Linked DNA regions of Homo sapiens: region 1 is linked to region 2. The links are contacts of gene promoters, found by promoter capture Hi-C in blood cells and fetal thymus (Javierre and others, 2016). All regions are on one chromosome and are shown on one strand. Each heading gives the region's core, a stretch centred on a gene start or on the middle of the fragment in contact. The rest is flanking DNA. Distances are from core to core; before and after follow the strand shown.

Region 1 (2,700 bases), core at 189-2,688, 310 kb after region 2:
AATCCTGCCTCCAGATCCCACACCCAACCCTACTCCTTCATACCAATCTGCCTGCCATTAACTGTAAGGTCCACCTTCCACAAAGGGCCAACAAATAACCTTAAAGTATTATCTGATATACTACTTCATAATAAAGTTAAGGTACTACACAAAACTTGCAATTTTATAAAAGTAGGGTACAAGTTAAATGTTTAGTTCTAGAAATTTTGTGCAATATGTTCATAACGATGGCTGCAGTTGCCACAAAGTGCCTCGTTTACCTTTAAATACTGTTAATGTGTCACGCATGCAGATGGAAGGGGTGGAACTGTGCACTAAAGTGGGGGCTTTAACTGTAGTGTTTGGCAGAGTTGCCTTCTACCTGCCAGTTCAAAAGTTCTGTTTTCATGCAGAATATATATACTAAAAAATTTCAGTCTTTTAAACAGCCTTACTCTGATTCAGCCTCTTCAGATACTCTTGTGCTGTGCAGTAGTGGCTCTATGTGTAAATGCCATGCACTGAGGGTACACAAAAATATCAACATTATGTGTACAGGATAATGCCTCATCCCAATCAGATGTCCATTTGTCATTGTGTTTGTTAACAACCCTTTATCTCTTAGTGTTAAATAAACTCCACTTAAAACGGAAAAAAAAAAAAAAGAACTTGCATTTTTAGTTACATGACCCTGAATGACTAAAATCCAAAAGAGCATTTCTTTTGGTTTCCCCAAAGTTAAAAAGCTTCAATAGAATTTTGAACAATTTGAAAAAATTCAGTAGAATTTTTACATTTTTCTAGGCATAATATAAAGAATTTAATTCTGAGAAATAAATATCTATAAAAGATAAGAAAAAGCTTTTCCTTTACTTCCACAAGGTGAATGAAGTTATAAATAACTTCTGGCTTTTCAGCAACTATACATGTACAAGGTTTGTCCAACAATCCTCTGCCACACCTGTTTATTCTGACAGCCTGCAATGTACCTATCACTACACACAGAAGGCACACAAAGAAAGGCCAACTCAGGCAAGCTGCACATCTCAAAGAGGGGCAGCTTATGATCACACAGTTTAATCTTGCTATGTCCCATCTTACGCAGGAGTTACCTAAACTGATTGCTGTCTCCATTACCTTCTATAAGGTCTATATACTCATAATAGACCATTCAAGTGACTCATGTATTCCCATTTCATGCTTTAAAATCCAAGGTTTTATGCCAGTTATTTGTACATGGCTTTTAGCTCCATTTCTAGTCTTGCATGTTCTCTTCTGTATCTTATGGACTGAAACCTGTAAACTGGGTAGTTTTTACTTTGTTTTTTATACTTTTCTGATCTGTCTAAACTAAAGTTTCTCAAATAGGGGAATAGGGGGAATTTTGCTCACCAGGGGACATTTGGCAATATCAGGAGACATTTCTAGTCAAAATGGGGTAGGGGTGCTACTGTCATTTGGTGGGTAGAGGCCAGGGGTGCTGCTAAACATCCTACAATGCATAGAACAGCCTCCACAACAAAGAACTATCTGGCACAAAATCTCAGTAGTACTGAGGTGAAGCAGTGTAGGTCTAAATATTTACTTTCATTATGGGCATTTATTACATTTCTAATTAGGGAGAAAAGTTATTTCCATCTTTGGAAAAAAAATCCTAAAAATACTCAAAAAGCAGGAGCTCTATATTAATAGTTGACATCTTAGACTTCGGGACTGTGAAATTAAAGACGAAGTCTTTTGTCCCAGGGACTAAAGAATTACCTTCCCTAAAATCCCAATTATATTATTAAAAGCTATTGGTCTCTGCTAGTAACTTTCAGTTTGTAAGTTTAATACTGCTTCAAACATTGCTTAAACCAGTAGTTTTCAAACTAAGTTCTTCCAGCAACTTGGCATTCCCGTAAGGTTTCCTAAGGGATACCAGGAGCCAGAAGACTTGTGATGGGGTAGCTTAGGGACATGGGGCTCTGGCCTTTCATACCCACTCCAGATAAAACAGCTTTGTGCTTGAGTATCAAGTTCTCAATAGTTAAAATGATTTGCAAACTACAGCATCGAAAGCTTTTAAAAGTGAATGTACCAGATAACCAGACATTATGAACCTCCTGGTGGAAGTTCACACACAGTCTATGAAATGGGCTGTGGAAAAAAACTGACTCTGAATCCAGTCAAGACTCTAGATCTAACAACCAATATACAGGACATACAAGAAACAGAGAAACATATTAAATGGCACCTGAGGAATGCAATTAGCAAAATCCAGACTGTGGGGAACTCCATAACAAATGACTCATTCTCTTCAACACAAGATTGCAAAGAGAGATCATTCAAGGAAAAAAAGAAACATGGAGAAAATCTATAGATATGCAAGAGACCTATCAATCAATCATAATGTAAGAAACTTATTTGGATCCAAATTTAACCTGCAAAACAACAACCAGAAGACAATTAAGGAAATATGAAACATGTATACTGACTGGATATTTTATGATATTAAGGAATTTTTGTTAATGTTTTAGGTATGATAATGGCATTGTGATTATGGTTTTTGTAAAACTCTCTTAGAGAAATACATGGAAATATTTACTGAATAGATACCCAATTGAATAGATGAAATAATGTGATATCTGAAATTTGCTTCAAAATAATCTGGGAGTAGGTGGGTATAGTACAGATGGCATAAGACTGGCAATCAACTGGTACGTGTTAAAGCCAGGTGAT
Region 2 (2,700 bases), core at 169-2,668:
GCGCCACCATGCCCGGATAATTTTTGTATTTTTAGTAGAGTCGGGGGTCTATGTTGCCCAGGCTAGTCTCAAACTCCTGGGCTCAAGCGATATGCCCACCTCGCCCTCCCAAAGTGCTGGGATTACAGGCATGAGCCACCGCGCCTTGCTAGAAGCCATTTAATCCAACTCTCCATCAAAGTCATGAATCCTGTTTACAACAACCTGATGAGATGTCAACTACTTTTCACGTGAACACACCCAGGAATTAGGAAGGCATTCCCTAACCGGCAGCTCTTATCTCTCCCAATCACGATTTGAGCTTCACCAAATAACTCAAACCCCTGTTTCCTCACATATTAAAGGGGAGTAAATATCTGCTTTACAGAACATTGTTGGGAGAATAAAAGGAGATAGAGGAATATAAATGGCCTAATCCACTTACAGAGGAGGGTGTGCAATGTTAGTCCCCTTTTTGCCTCCTTTTATGGGACAGCACATTCCATTTTTGGATCGTCATCACCTAGAGAAAGGTCTTCCTTAATACTGAATTGTCTTTGTATCCTTTTAGCACCTTTCTTAAGTTTAACCCTAAGTGGTCTCATAGAATGTCATTTTTCCGTCCACACGACGTCTTCACTGATATCTGTGACTTTAGTTGAAGGGGCTGAAGATATTGGGAAGAATAATTCAATTTTTTCCTTCCTCCGTCCCTCCCTCCCTCCCTTCCTTCCTTCCTTTTTTTTTTTTTTTCTTTGAGCTGGGGAGCTGGGTGAGGCTTCTGTGGATTCCCAAGAGGTATTTGTGGCGTGAATGGAGCAAAGGTGATGTTTCACTTCATCACGTCCAGCACTGTCCCAAGGTTAAATGGGCGCGTGAGGACAGTTTTCTCCGGTCCTGGCGGGTTTGCCCACCTGCCGGCCAGCGTTCTGCGGGAGTCAAGCCTGGAAAGCGTGTGTGCGGCGCACAGGCGTCAGACACTGGAACGCATTCGAATGGTGCTATTCTTTGCCACATAGCGAGCACTTTATAAGGTCACTTATCGTCCCGAATGAATGGTTAAATCGTGGAAGCCGCAAAGAAAGCCACGCAGCTTTGACTCAATACCTAGCCCAGTACTCAGGAACCCCTCTCAGGGGTGCGCGAGCGGGGCCGGAATCAAGAAGCCTCTTTTGGGGTGGGCGGGGACCGATCTAGAGCTCCCACTGCGGGGCACCGCCTCTTTTCCTCGCCGGCCGCCCGCTAGGAGGCGCTGGGGAGCTTGCAGCCCACCTGCGAGGCGGTCCCGCTCTCCCCACCCCTCAGCCCGCGCCCGGCGGAGAGACTACAACTCCCGGAGTGCTCTGGGAACGGAGCCACGGGAGCTACAGGCGGAGGGACCCGAGGGCGGGCTTTCCGGGTGTGTGTTTCCGGCGTCGGCGGCCGCGGCCGGGGACGGTGTGAGAGCGGTAAGATGGCGGCGGCGGCGGTGGTGGAGTTCCAGAGAGCCCAGTCTCTACTCAGCACCGACCGGGAGGCCTCCATCGACATCCTCCACTCCATCGGTAAAGGTCGCCGCGCCGCCTCCCCGGCCCCGCCGGCCCAGCTCGGCTTATGTCGGTCGGCGGCAGCGGAGAGGGGCCCGGCTAGCCGGCTCTGATGCTGCTGACTCACTGTGTGAGGGGGGCCGGGCCGGGGGCGCAGGCCGCTCGGAGCTCCCCAGAGCCTCCCAGGTCTCACTCTTGTGGGAGGGCTTGAGGCAATCCCCGGGTCCCCTCGCCGGCTGCTGACTCACGGGGGGCTCAGCGTAGGGTGGGAGAGTGGGCCGAGCCGGGCCCCCGGGGATCCCTCCCTAGCCATGTCCCCGGCTCTGGCCCGCACGAGCTGGTCTGGGACCCGGAGCAGTGCCGGCCGGCGTGCTTGTCACGGACTGGTCCTAGAGTCTCTACTTGAAAGGCCTTGGCGAAACCAGCTCTGGACAGGCATTTCCCGCCGTTGTAATCAGCACAGCCTGCTCCGGGTGGGAGCGCGAGCGCTTGCTCTTCTCTGGGAGTTTCCTTCCACGGGACGCTGGGAGCTGCTACTCCTCAGCCCCACGGCAGAAAGCTCCACTAAGAGGAGGGTCTCTTTCAGAATGTGGGAAATTCAGGGGTGACACACACCTCAGATTGGCATTTGGTTTGTGGAGGTGGCCGAGACGCTCATCTGCTCTGTGTAGGGTGTAAGAGTGAGGTGTTGGAGCGGGACCGCCTGGCTAGAGGAGGTGACTAATCTTTCCAGACTGCCTGTAGGGGTTGGAAGTGAGTTAAGGGAGTTAGTTGTCAGCCGCGGAGTTCAGGGAATTCTTTGGAACGGGTCGGCTGCATGTTGCCGGAAAAATTAAAATTTCTTAACGCTGTAATAACGATGGTCTTACACCTACACACAACAGGAAAACTGAAATGGGAATCCCAGCCAGTCGCTTCCGGCAGCTTTCTGTTGGGATTCAAGTGTGAACAGAAATTTATTACGACAGAAGAAGACGTTAATGTTCACTCATAAAGGATTCAATTAGGGCTTGGACTAGCTCTTCACTGCACATGTAATGGCATCTTTGTAGTGTAGTTTGGGAAGATCTGAATTGGCTCAACAAGTAGTATGAGAATGCACCTGTATGTGGGACTTGCAAGATGTTGGCATTTGACTTAGTGTGTTGAATTTTGGTATTCCAGACCTGCACGGAGAAAGGACAATGACAAGATC

The links. Contacts are between HindIII fragments. The CHiCAGO score rates a contact against its expected background, and 5 or more counts as called.
Region 1: a fragment that was not itself captured here is called in contact with the fragment with the promoter of PSMD11 in region 2 in 15 of 17 cell types (naive CD4 T cells, total CD8 T cells, fetal thymus and 12 more); the score reaches 13.3 in naive CD4 T cells.

What each region holds. Positions count from the first base shown.
Region 1 is chr17:32,755,947-32,758,646 of GRCh38, forward strand. All of the region lies in intron 10 of MYO1D (myosin ID), which reads right to left. Among named protein-coding and RNA genes, the nearest start is that of MYO1D-DT, 120 kb to the right of the region's middle. The HindIII fragment of the contact is 1,200 bases long and covers 839-2,038 here.
Region 2 is chr17:32,443,092-32,445,791 of GRCh38, forward strand. It overlaps PSMD11 (proteasome 26S subunit, non-ATPase 11), which reads left to right and starts at 1,419. Exons shown (of 14, transcript NM_002815.4): 1 at 1,419-1,523. The coding sequence starts at 1,433. RefSeq lists a silencer at 1,139-1,308 and enhancers at 1,200-1,815, 1,429-1,508. The HindIII fragment of the contact is 4,191 bases long and covers 1-2,700 here.